Linked DNA regions of Homo sapiens: region 1 is linked to region 2. The links are contacts of gene promoters, found by promoter capture Hi-C in blood cells and fetal thymus (Javierre and others, 2016). All regions are on one chromosome and are shown on one strand. Each heading gives the region's core, a stretch centred on a gene start or on the middle of the fragment in contact. The rest is flanking DNA. Distances are from core to core; before and after follow the strand shown. Region 1 has its middle 210 kb from the start of TPK1. Region 2 holds the start of CNTNAP2 (contactin associated protein 2).

Evidence for each region. The method cuts DNA at HindIII sites, captures the fragments that hold promoters and counts their contacts. A CHiCAGO score of 5 or more calls a contact.
Region 1: a contact is called between a fragment that was not itself captured here and the fragment with the promoter of CNTNAP2 in region 2, in 1 of 17 cell types (total B cells). The highest score is 5.1, in total B cells.

Annotation. Positions count from the first base shown.
Region 1 is chr7:145,038,973-145,045,200 of GRCh38, reverse strand. It overlaps the pseudogene RPL7P59. Among named protein-coding and RNA genes, the nearest start is that of TPK1, 210 kb to the right of the region's middle. The HindIII fragment of the contact is 635 bases long and covers 3,539-4,173 here.
Region 2 is chr7:146,111,721-146,118,297 of GRCh38, reverse strand. It overlaps CNTNAP2 (contactin associated protein 2), which reads right to left and starts at 1,497. Exons shown (of 24, transcript NM_014141.6): 1 at 1,325-1,497. The coding sequence starts at 1,421. The HindIII fragment of the contact is 7,089 bases long and covers 1-4,274 here.

The DNA of each region.
Region 1 (6,228 bases), core at 2,607-5,106, 1.1 Mb after region 2:
TCACTTGAGATCAGGAGTTCGTAACCAGCCTGGTGAACATGGCGAAACCCCATCTCTAATAAAAATACAAAAATTAGCAGGGTGTGGTGGCACATGCCTGTCATCCCAGCTACTTGGGAGGCTGAGGCAGGAGAATCACTTGAACCCAGGAGGCGGAGGTTGCAGTGAGCCGAGATCACGCCATTGCAATCCAGCATGAGCAACAAGAGCAAAACTCCATCTCAAAAAATATAAATAAAATAATAATAATAACAATAATAAAGGAAAGATCAGAGCTGCTGAACACCAGCAGCACAAATTTCACAATTTTGTCTATTTTGGAAAACAGAAATTTCATTAAATGGACAGCACTATACAATCCTGCCTTTTAAAATAATTTTCTTGAAGTATGTTTGCCTTGTACTGATTGCTAATTAAACAGAACTGTCATAGTATGATAGTTACATAATTTCTTCTCATGTTCAGTTTTCAGAAAAATATATTTTAACAATTGACACTTTTTTATTTTTATAAGCAAATGGAATATTTAGATGTTGGTCACTTTTCTCCAGTATGTTCTGTAGATGAACTGAAAAACCCTAATTCCCTGGTACTGCCACCAGAAAATCCATCCTTTTTTTCCTTGTTTGCACTGAGAAACCAGGATTACTTCTCTCCCTTCTGCCCATTTTTCCCAACAAATCACCGTCCCTGTTATTATAAATATTCACTGCTAAGGGCCAGAAGCCACTGAGAACAAAACACAGAATAAGAACAGTACATAAAATTGCTGTGGAGCCTCTGGGTTTTTTGCTGCAATAGACATCTCAGTTGCAGACATCAGATGGATTTCATGAAGTTGGTTGCAAAACCTTGGCCCAAATCAAGGATGTTATTGTTTCTTTTCCCTGCTAATTCTTCATCCTCTCTCTGCTTCTCTCTCTTCCCACGTCTCAGTAAGCCCGCCTGTGTCTCTGTCTGTTTGTCTGTGTCTCTTTTAGGCTATGTGACTCACCTGCAAACTTGCAGCCCAGTGAGTTGAAAACTGTTATCCCATCGTGTCTGAAATTGATTTCTTCTGTCTGAATGGTGCCTCTAGAGTTTGGAGAACAGCTCCAAAAGGATACAGTAATATACAAAAACATGAGTGAGCCCAGAGCTATTCTAAATAAGTTCTTTTTTATTTATAATACATATGGAAGAGAGTGTATATATTTAAAGGAATGGAATGTATTTGCATTAAAATCAGAATCTGATGGTCCACCAAGATATAAAATCAAGCAAGAGCTATCACAAAGTCTGCCTTTCCAACAAGACTCCATGTTGTCCCCTCTGTTCTCATCATGGGTCTACCTAGATCCCACCATCCCATCTGCACATACTGGGTTGGGGCACCTTGACACCCCTGACCTGCCTTTCACTATCCAATGGCCCACCCCACTACAAGCGAATCATCCTTCTGTAACTGCAATGTAAAATTTTTTAAAGAATGGCCATTTTACAAATCATCATAGGATTATTCCATTTTGAAGAATAATTCTGGTAATATGTCAGAATGACTTATCTTCTATGATATTTCAAATTTTCTCACAATTTTCCCCTTTAAGCTTTTTCTTACTTCCATATTTTTAGCTCTTAATTCTTCCTTATCCTTAATCTCATCTAGAATAACAGCTTCAGGCTCTCATCCCATTGGGTTTTGTCATTTTGCCTGAAACTTTTACTGCTTCTTTACAGACGTTTTAGAATTTGGTTTTAGCCTTTATTTTCAATTTGATTTCTCTTATCTCAAATTTTAAATTTTAGCTTTAATGTTTAACATTCTTGTTAGACCTCAACTCCTACTTTATGGGAACGAAAGCGTTAATAAAATACTCTCATGTGTTTAGCTTTTCTTAACATTTTATGTTCTTACAAATGCTTATTTCCCCAATTGTTTCTCTTCTCCCATCCTTTTCAGTATCTTTTTTATAATATTTGTTGAGAAAATTGTGCATTTGTGCTGAAATTCCTTAATGAGTCTAAGTCATCAAAAAATAGGGGTGCATAAATATTTTGTTCCTAGAATTGTCCTTATGATTACTTCACTGGTTTTTCCAAACAGATCTCCTGGACCTAAGTACTTCATAATGATGGATATGAAAAAACAAACTTAAGATACTTAATCTATAGGTTAACCCTTAGAATATAAAATTTTTCCAGGTATGCTTTTCTTCTTAAAAACCTCCTACCATCCAAGCCTTATGTGGAAAGATACAAATTTTGACACTTACCATCTCTGTCCCCATATACTATACTGTACCATGAGCCTGGGTGTTTTGGAAATTCAAAGCTAAGGCAAGGCTCTCCATTCACTGTCCTGGGTCAGAAATCCTAAGCAAGCAGGTGGCGATGGGCCTTCTGATGGTTACTTACGATTCACAATGTGGTAGAGGAACCACAGACATCTTCTACTTACACCTGAATGCTCAACACATTTTCTGGGTTGTGTTATTCCCCTCTCAGAGGAATCATCCAAGAATCTCCTCAGTGTTATAATCCATTGACTTCTTTCTCTCATTGAAAGAGTTAAGACAAAGCTTGCAATGAGAATTTTATCCAAATTCTTCTAGGGGTGGGATGCCCTATTTTGGTCAGAAATTATACTGAAGGATTTCAGGCTACAAAAATATATCAGAACCTAAAGAGAGGGTAGAAACATTTTACTCTAGGCAATGCTTTTTGGTTCTAAGAAAATCTGAGATGACAACTAGATGGAGATGCTCTTCCTAAAGGAAAACTAGATATTCTTCTGGCAAAAAGTAGAATTTCTAAAAGACAATTTAAACAGCCCATCAGGGTATAGACAAGAATCAAATTGCTCCTGATTTTCTGTACTATCTATCACTCCTGTTAAACTCTAGTATGTGGTAATATCTTATTATGAGGTTAATTTGAATTTGGGTAATTAGCAATAGCATTGAACATCTCTTTATGTGTTTGTTGGCCATTTGTGTATGTTCTTTGATGAAGTGTGTTCAAATCTTCTGCCCATTTTTAATTGAGATTTTTTTCTCTTATTATTGAGCTATAAGAGTTAATATATTCTTAATACAAGTGATTTATTAAATACATATTTTGAAAATATATTTTCTAATCTTTGGCCTTTCTTTTTATTTTCTTAAAAACCCAGAGAGGCTATCTATGTGTTTTTGCTGAGATTATGCAGCAAGCCAGCTTGATTCTACTTCTAGCATTATTTCCTCTATGCAGCACTGAGGGCAGTTTTCTCTGCAGAAACTTCACTGACAATTCAGCAAATATACCATAGATCAGGAGCTTATGGATAGGGAGCAGACTGCAGACAGGAATCTGTAATAACTCTGTTGCTTCTTAAGAAGGAATTCTTTGGCAATTTGCTATGTGAGGAGACTTCCAGGCTCAAGTGTTAATTGTAATCCCTTTGTTTTTAAAATAGCTGATCGTAGAATAAATAAATCTTACTTTCTCTTTTTTTTAAAAAAAAACACAGGCCTCAATTTCCTAAAATATTCACTCTATACATAAACAAATGTAAGCTTTAATAGAGTGTCAAAAGTGGCTTTGCAAAAATGTCAATGGGCCAGTTGCTATGAATAGTAGTTTATACATAAGCACAGAATGTTGCTGAATTATTAGAACCCCAGTCATTCAAGACCATGACAATGGCCTCAGAGTTATTCTCATCTCCATAGAAACACACATTCTACCAGAGCATCCCTAATTTGTGAAGAATATTGATATATTTGTGCCAATTCATTCATGTTCTTCCACCTAATCTCCTCAAGTAACTATTGGGTGTTTTGGAAATTTAAATCTAATTTAAATTAGAAGGAGATGCGAAGTGACCCAGACTTGGATTTAACCAAAACCTTTTGTCTAACGCATCTGACCAACTTATGTAATTGTTCTCCCTAACAATGAAACTGGTTAAAATGTTTCCTAATGATCTGAAAGAACTGTTGTTTATACACATAGCAACTAATTTATTTTAAGATAGTTTCAAAAACATTGAGAGGAACCATATTTCCTAAATAATTCACTTTAAAGAAAATGGCAATTTATTATTTACCAACAGATTGTTATACTGCAAAGAGAAAAGATTTTAGAACACACGCACAATTCTCTCCTCAACTGAGACAACTGTGTATTCTTTCTATTTTGTAGATGCAAGCTTCTTTCTCAGTTCCTGTAATGCTCCCTAATGTGAAAATTTCTTTAAAAACTGGAAAATAGAACTTCCTCTTTTTCCAACTGGAACCATGGAGGGTGTAGAAGAGAAGAAGAAGGAGGTTTCTGCTGTGACAGAAACCCTTAAGAAAAAGCAAAGGAATTTCACAGAGCTGAAGATCAAGCGCCTGAGAAAGAAGTTTGCCCAAAAGATGCTTTGAAAGGCAAGGAGGAAGCTTATCTATGAAAAAGAGAAGCACTATTACAAGGAATATAGGCAGATTTACAGAACTGAAATTCGAATGGCGAGGATGGCAAGAAAAGCTGGCAATTTCTATGTACCTGCAGAAGCCAAATTGGCCTTTGTCATCAAGATCAGAGGTATCAATGGTGTGAGCCCAAAGGTCCAAAAGGTGTTGCAGATTCTTCGCCTTCGTCAAGTCTTCAATGGAACCTGTGTGAAGATCAACAAGGCTTCAATTTACATGCTGAGGATTGTAGAGCCATAGATTGCATGGGGGAACCCAAATCTAAAGTCAGTAAATGAACTAACCTGCAAGGGTGGTTATGGCAAAATAGATAAGAAGAAAATTGCTTCGACAGATCATGCTTTGATTGCTCGATCTCTTGGTAACTATGGCATCATCTGCATGGAGGATCTGATTCATGAGATCTATACTGTTTACATGCTGAGGATTGTAGAGCCATAGATTGCATGGGGGAACCCAAATCTAAAGGCAGTAAATGAACTAACCTACAAGGTTGGTTATGGCAAAATAGATAAGAAGAAAATTGCTTCGACAGATCATGCTTTGATTGCTCGATCTCTTGGTAACTATGGCATCATCTGCATGGAGGATCTGATTCATGAGATCTATACTGTCGGAAAATGCTTCAAAGAAGCAAATAACTTCCTGTGGCCCTTCAAATTATCTTCTCTATGAGGCAGAATAAAGAAAACAGCCATCCATTTTGCAGAAGGAGGAGATGCTGACAAGAGGGAGGACCAGATCAACAGGCTTATTAGAAGAATGAACTAAGGTGTCTACCATGATTATTTTTCTAAGCTGGTTGTACCTGCTTTCAAACTGAACAACGACAACAAAAAAAACCTGAAAATAAATACACCTGGAGAAGGTTCCCTAACCCAAGAATGAACCAAGGATTTCTCTGAATTGTGGGCTTGGATTCTTGGCTAGTCATGTCCTTTTATCGATGCTATAAGCATGGTCCCAGCTACCTAGATACAGAGGATAGTCTATTCCAGTTCTTAAAAGGGCAACTCCTTACTTACTTTACCCCAGATTAGCAGACTCATTAATTTATTACACAATCCAAAATGTAAGCTACGTTTCTGCCTGATATCTTTCTGGCACACTGGGCCTTCTTAGGCCTATGGGTCATTAGATTGACTTGCAGACTTTGGACATGATGAATCCTCAGATTACCAAAGTTGTACTCATTTTTTATGTATCAGTTTTTGTAAAAGTCTAAGTTACATATGACTATAGTTTAAGGTTAAATATTCCATTAATGTTGTTAAATAAAATAGCAATTTTCCTGACCACTTCTTCTTGTCCAATTTTCTCCTCTCTACAAGCAGCCACATTCAATTCTATTAAAGCTGATATTTTAAGAAATTTCTTTGATATTATTAAGTAACATGTTTGCTAATTCTTGATTTGTCAGTTTTAGTTTTGTGAAAAGAATACCCATTATGGCAGATGAAGATGAAGCTTCATTTCTTCCCTTACCCCTCTACATTTCCTCTTTCTCCTCTCCCTATCCTCCCGTAGAGTTATACCATAATTTCAATTGATTGATATTCAATATTTACAAGACTACAGTAACACTATTCTCAAAGGAGATATGCAGTAAACCGATTGCTTTCATTTACCGTACAACTCTCTGTCTTGCAGTTAATCATTGTATAATTGTTTAATTTCTATTAAATTAGCATCAATTTAACCCCAAACTTTCTCCCAATCCTGTATCTTCCCTCAGGAAATAGAGACACATAAAGCAATATCTCAATTTCATCTTCTTGAAGAAATATCTCCT
Region 2 (6,577 bases), core at 248-2,747:
AAGTTCATTACAAACTTAGATTGCCAGTTAGTTTATCTCCTTATCTTTACACATTGTGGGAAAAGAAAAGCTAATACTGTACTTAGGAAGATATGTCAAAACAGTAATACTGGCTCATAACCGGATATTATATAGTAGATTCCTTATTACAACTTATAATGTCCTTTTTCAATGCTATTCCTGTTGATATTTACCACTACAATAAGATCATTATTAACAAAGATGCATTAATACATCCCAAAATCTTAGAAACAAAGACTACTTCGCATATGACGAATTCTGGAAAATATTAAACTTTTCTTTTCCTAAATGGACAAAAAAATCTTCCTTTTAAACTCTGAAATCTCCACGATAATTCTTTATCAACTTACTCATTCTCAGAAACTAGTATGCGCTTATGAATATTATCCTAAGATTCCTATAGGCAGTCTTTCTAGTGTTTAACTCTTTCTGAACCAAAGGAACAATCATGCATTTCCTCTCTACATGCACAGTATGCACTTCTAAAGGAATGCAGAAAATGGGCCAGAATCTTCCATTTCTTTCTAAACCTCATGAAAACAGGGGCAGTCTTAAACACACACACACACAAACACACACACACAGTTGATTAAAATGCAGAGATATACATATTGAATATAATTATTTTCCTGAAAACCCTATTAAGAATCTGTTTATTACTACATTAACGACGCTTTGCACTGAGTGTCCCAAGTACCGTACTGCATCAGTCATATCCATGATATCAAAGTATCAAAGAATTAAAGCAATTTCAGTTACAATTTCGCTGCCTTCCATTTTAATAAGCAAGTACTAAATGGGCATTAACTTTTTAAGGGAACGGGAGAGGTTAAAGAGACCCTATAGGTGCCCAAACTGTTTAAAACATGCTCCTCTTGTTAACCTCAACCCCGTGCTCATTAAGTTATAACCATAAATAAAAATAAGAAACTTGGTTTTGCCATGGTCTTCACTTTTCATTCACTGACCTACCTAAGCCAAATGCAGTTAACTCTCCCTGCACAAACAACTCCTAAGAAGCTGCCATCTACATCAGTCTCTCTAGCCAAGCTCTTGCCAACCGATCACCAAGACCAGGAACAACTTTCCAGAAACATCACCAGCGTCACAACCCTGTCTCTTCCAAAACAGAAACGCTGGGTTTCGAGTTTGTCTACTGCAGTGGCTGCAAGTGTGTGACAGCGGAGACACAAACACATCAGGGTGCCAGCACTGCGATGCACTTCGGAGTTGATACCCTGGTGCCAAACATCAATGCCGCACTGAAACTGCTCCAGAGCAGAGCGAGGAGACGGCTACTTACGGGACGTGGAGGGAGCCGTCCAGGCTCTGCAGAGGCAGCTGCTGACAATCCACAGCAGGAGCGCTGCCCCGCAGCCGGCGCGCGGAGCCGCCTGCATCCTTCGCCTCCCGGCCGGCGGCGCTCCAAGAGCTCGCTGCGGAGATGCAGTCCGACTCTCCGTAGGGTTCTTGAAGGGAGATGGGCTGTCCTCAAATACGCGAGGAAGCCAAGCCCCTCCCGCTTCCTCTTCTCCCCTCACCCCCCTCCAGGCTCCAGTTCTTCCGGGCTTGGAGCGGCAGGGGAGTCTCAGCCTTCGTTCTCCCTCCGTGCGGGTATTGCCTCTTGCACTGTGTGCCAGTGCAACGCCGGGGGAGGAAATTCAAACCAAGAAGGCAAAGGAGGGGGAAGAGGGGAGGGAACGGACACCTACCCCGCCCTCTCCTTCTTGAAAAAAAAAAATCACCAAAGGACGGGGGAGGGAGGTAATCAGAAGAGCAGAGGCTGCAGAAGAGGAAGGCAGAGCGACGGGGACGGTGGTGCAGCTGTTGCCACTGCGGGCGAGCGCTCCCTCCGCCGCCGGGCAGCGTGACTCGAGGGGTTTCCACTCGCCTGTCAGCTCACATGGAGAGCTTGTGTATGTGGGGAGCGCGCAGCGCAGCCGGGGCGCACGCACGGCCTCAGCGCTGCGCCGCGCGAGGAAGCATCTCCCGGGCGGCGGAGCGCGAGCAGCAGCAACAGCCGCGGAGAGCAGGAGACGCCGCCGCCGCCGCCGCCGCCGCCAGCTCCTGTGAGCCCGGGCGGCGAGCGAGGCGGAGGGAAGCCCTCCCTTCTCTTCCCTTCTCGGTTCCCTCCTCGGCTCCTCCTCCTCCTCCGCCTCCTCCTCCTCTTCCTCCTCCTTACCGTACCCCTCTGGCTGTCAAAACCCTTCTGCCCTGCCCTGGCCTCGTTTGAAAGCAAAAGGGAGACTGAGCCGACCGGCCGGGGTCCATCAGCTGGGGCGGGGGCGGAGCAAGGAGGCGCGCGCCTCTCCCTGGGCGGGAGGTGATGCTGTCCGCGGTGCTGAAGTTGGGGATTTGCCGTGTAATCCTAGAACCCTGCTCCAAACCTGGCTGCCCCCTACCCGGCTGCAGGAAGGAGAACACCCTCGCTCGGATGCCTTCTCCTTTCCTTCTCTCCTCCCCTTCAGATAAAGATGGTACAGGCTCCTGGAGCTCCGGCCCCCCGGGAACCACAGTCAGGCGTCCGACAGGCAGGTCTTCCGAGTGGTCCTAACACCAAGTGACGGTGCTAAACATCCCGACTGACTGGAGCAGGGAGGGAGGACTGCAGATGCCGTTAATGCACATGTTTTCGATATGTAATTAATTCGTACTCATACATATGCACACGTACACCAAACACACGCTGCTGCCAGGAGAAACTACACTTAGGCAAACACGCATACAAACACAAACACAAAACGGAAATACATAAGCAGGCATATGGGTAACTATTTCAAGGTACCTGAGGCATTGCAAGCACTAAGAATTAAGAATGTTTAGAGAGACCTAGATTTTTTCACATTTAGATAATTTTAATAATAATTATCAAGCTCTTCTCCCCAGCTCACAGCTCTTCACACTCTACCCTCCATATGTTTTTCTTCCATCTAGTCTACTTAAAGTATTTGAATTCTTATGTCTCTGCAGAGCCAAGCATTCCACTGACTTTATTGACACAATTAAAAATTATTGGTCATCTAAATATCTAATGATGTTTGTGGAGGACTAAGTAGGAGTAACCATGTCTTTCGATGTTATGCAATGAATAAGCATTTGCATTTAAAGATAAATAGAAAATTTATGGAGGCTTGCCTAATCCTGGAATAAACTGAGTTTTTAACATCATTGTTTGGTCTTAGAAAGGTCCACTGTAAATAGTACTGTGTATTCACTGCATAATTAATATGGTGTTAATGGGTCTGATTCAGCGCTTTTTATTTGATCTTTGTTTCTTGTTAATTTAAAAGGATGCTTTGTCCTAGTAAGAACTGCAGATTGGGTACAATATGGAAAATGAAGAAACACACAGATGACTAATGGGAGGTGAACTGCCTCCTCATTCTATAAAATACTCCTCCTGTAAAATAATACAGCAAATGCATTCTTATGGATTATAAAATGTCCCTTTGCTGTTTGAATTATCACAGACTGTCAAAAGTCAATGACCACTTGCCAAAACACTCCAGTAAAGAACTGCCATCAGCCATTTCTAAGAGCTCAAAGAAACAAGTCATAGGAAAAAAAAAAACTGTCAGAAAGCGTAACTTTTCAGAACAATCTATTATTTAACTATGCCTCTCCATTTTAACTATCATACTGAACTCCAATAACATAGCATTAAAGTATTTTCAATAGAAGAAAAAAGGCAGCGATTGAAAGTATTACCATTTCAGTAACTCAATGAATGCTATTCCATGGGTATCTCAAGCAGAACTGAAACAATTCCATTTCCCAGATTACCAAACTAAAAGACATGCAATAGACATCTATTTAATTATTTTGTAACAGAAAATGATATACCTGAGGGTGTATTCTTCTCCAAAGAGCATTCTGATCAGTTTGTAGTAATTTCTCCTAATGAGAAACAACAAAACTCAATTTAATAACACATGTAAATACCTGCACCACCTCTGTGCCATATAGGATGGTCTTATTTCATGCCAGTATGAGCTAAGAGCCTGCTTTAATCTGTTTTCAATGCACTTTGTCAGGTTTGAAAGTTATGTCACATCATTTGTAACACAACTACCTCTGCCTTCAATTTGTGTTAATTAGATATGGACATCTGGAACTCAAAATACTTAAAGTCTTAAGACTTTAATTGTTGCCAGATCAGAGACTCCCTAGAGTATAATGCTATGTTCTTCCTATCCAACTCCATTAGAGTTTATATTTTCATCATTATTACAATTAGAATTTAGAATTAAGCTTCTTCTTCCTTCAGTTATCACTATGACTTTTAGTGAGAAGGTAGGAATTAGTAAGTCTGTTTGTTCTGGTCAAACTACACGGTCCAGCAAAACTGGTAATCCAGTCAATGGACTTACAACAGTCCAACCAGATGTCTAGTAGATATGATAAGCATGAAATTTCTTGTTTCTGAGAGTGAATTCATTATTGATTTCTATATTACATTGATGTTTGCAAATAATTGAAGACAGCTAATAATGATTTGAACATATGTCTCCTTAGTTGGAAGTAAGGTCAATTAAAGCTTGAAAGTAGTAAAACTAAGTGGACCAACGGTACACACACACAAACCCACCCACCGGCCCCCCCACCCCAGCCCCACCTCCCCCAAATGCACAGCATGACCAGAAAAGACAGTGGGCAATTTGCATTATTTTGGAAGTAGAGCAATGGAAAATAATAAAGAATAGACATTTTCTCTTTCCCACTGCTCACATCCTCTTTACTTCAACAGATTTTTAAAAAATGTTAGCTTGATCCCATGAGTAGTGACTTCATTAGCAGTATACACATTCTTCATTTGCATCCCCAATATTAATTGAATATCTACTATTATTGGGTTTGGCATTATGCTACATAGAGTTTATGCCTATGACCAAGATGGATATTACACTGGTAGTGAGTGGTTGAATAAACGGACCAAAATAAGTCCATATCATCTTTATGCTAACATTAATTCAAGTAAATCTTGACTGGCTCTTTTTTTCCAATATCTTAATACATTCTTAAAATTAATATTCTCAACAAATATAAAAATTATTTTTATCACAATCATCATTATTATTCCAGAGTTCTGTAAATAGTCTGCCACAATGTAAATTATCTCAAAAGTCTGCCCAAATTTTGGAACTTAAGTGAAAAAAAAGAGTCAAAATATTTCAATCTTAACACTTTGAAGTGATTGCATGAAGCACTGGAAAAATTCAGGAATTTTCAATAGGTTAAAAAAAATTGGTATATGTCTAGGTGAGTGCCTTGGAGTAGAATTTCCTTCTGTAAAGGGAGCTGTCCAACTATGCCCAGAAATCAGTGAATGCCTGCTGAAAAATCGGCCAAATTAGAGTAGATACATTTGCCAGTCTGATTGCACCCTCTAAGAAGGCTTTAGCACCTGCTTCTCTGAAAATATACAAGCTGTCTGGAATGTTATTCTTTAGTGAGCATGAACAGGATAAAGTAGAGTCCCATAGTAAAACCTCTGGTGAGCTGAAAAATCTACCTGGATTTTGGTCCTTTAGCCCTGCTAATTGTCCCTGGGCACTCTGAGATACTTCATATCATAATCAAGTATCAATTGGAATGACATACTGAGGAAGATGCATAAACTTAAAGGGATTTCCAAAATTTCACTTTATTTTAAAGGTCTCAGGGAAATGCATGATACCGAGTGTTATTTGGATTAAACACCTTGAATATATTGCTAAAGAAACAATTCATGTTTTGGCTGTTTAATGTTAGTAGGAAAGGTAAAGTCAGCAAAGGGTGGTCTTAATGCACTGGTAAACATACTTTCAATTAATATAAGAAACTGGGAGGAAAAATAGTTAAACTAATTTGTAAATTTAGAATATAAAACTTGACCTTAATATTTATTGCATTCTTCATGTTCTGCGGGGTGAGGTGGGGGTCACAGCGCAGCTCTGTTGCCCAGATTTTAAGTGAATTTCTTTTGAGTGTCATAATCACATAGAAATTAGGAAGAACCAGATGGTCATTCAGGAAGCAAGTTAGAGTGGAAATTGAGCCTGGTCTCTGGGATTTGTGTATTGGCCTACAAACTCTTTGTGTGACCTTACCCGCACACTGGATGCTTTCATTTTCTCACCTATAAGATCAGAGTAGTATTTATACCCATAAAACTTGATTATTTTGGGAATTAAACATAATTTATATATTATACCAGGCACAGAAAGTGTTCTCTATAGATTAACTACCAGTACTATTATTATTATCCAGATAAATTAATATACCTCAAAGTTCTAAACTGAAGTTCTAGAATCTTAAGTTTATCCCTCAATAAATTCATATTGAAAAACCATTTAGATTTTTTTCTGGATTAGAAAAAATCTTTTATCAATGAGAAGTTATGTCAAATTGTCTGAACATTAAGATCAATTTATATATTAATGTGAAAGCAGTGTGAAAAAATAAAATGCATATTGGAATAAAATTTTGGAAATATATTTGGAATTTGAAAGAACTATGAGAAAGTAAGGTCTATAGAAACATAAGGCAAGATGTGGGGCTTGTGAACTGAAGTACA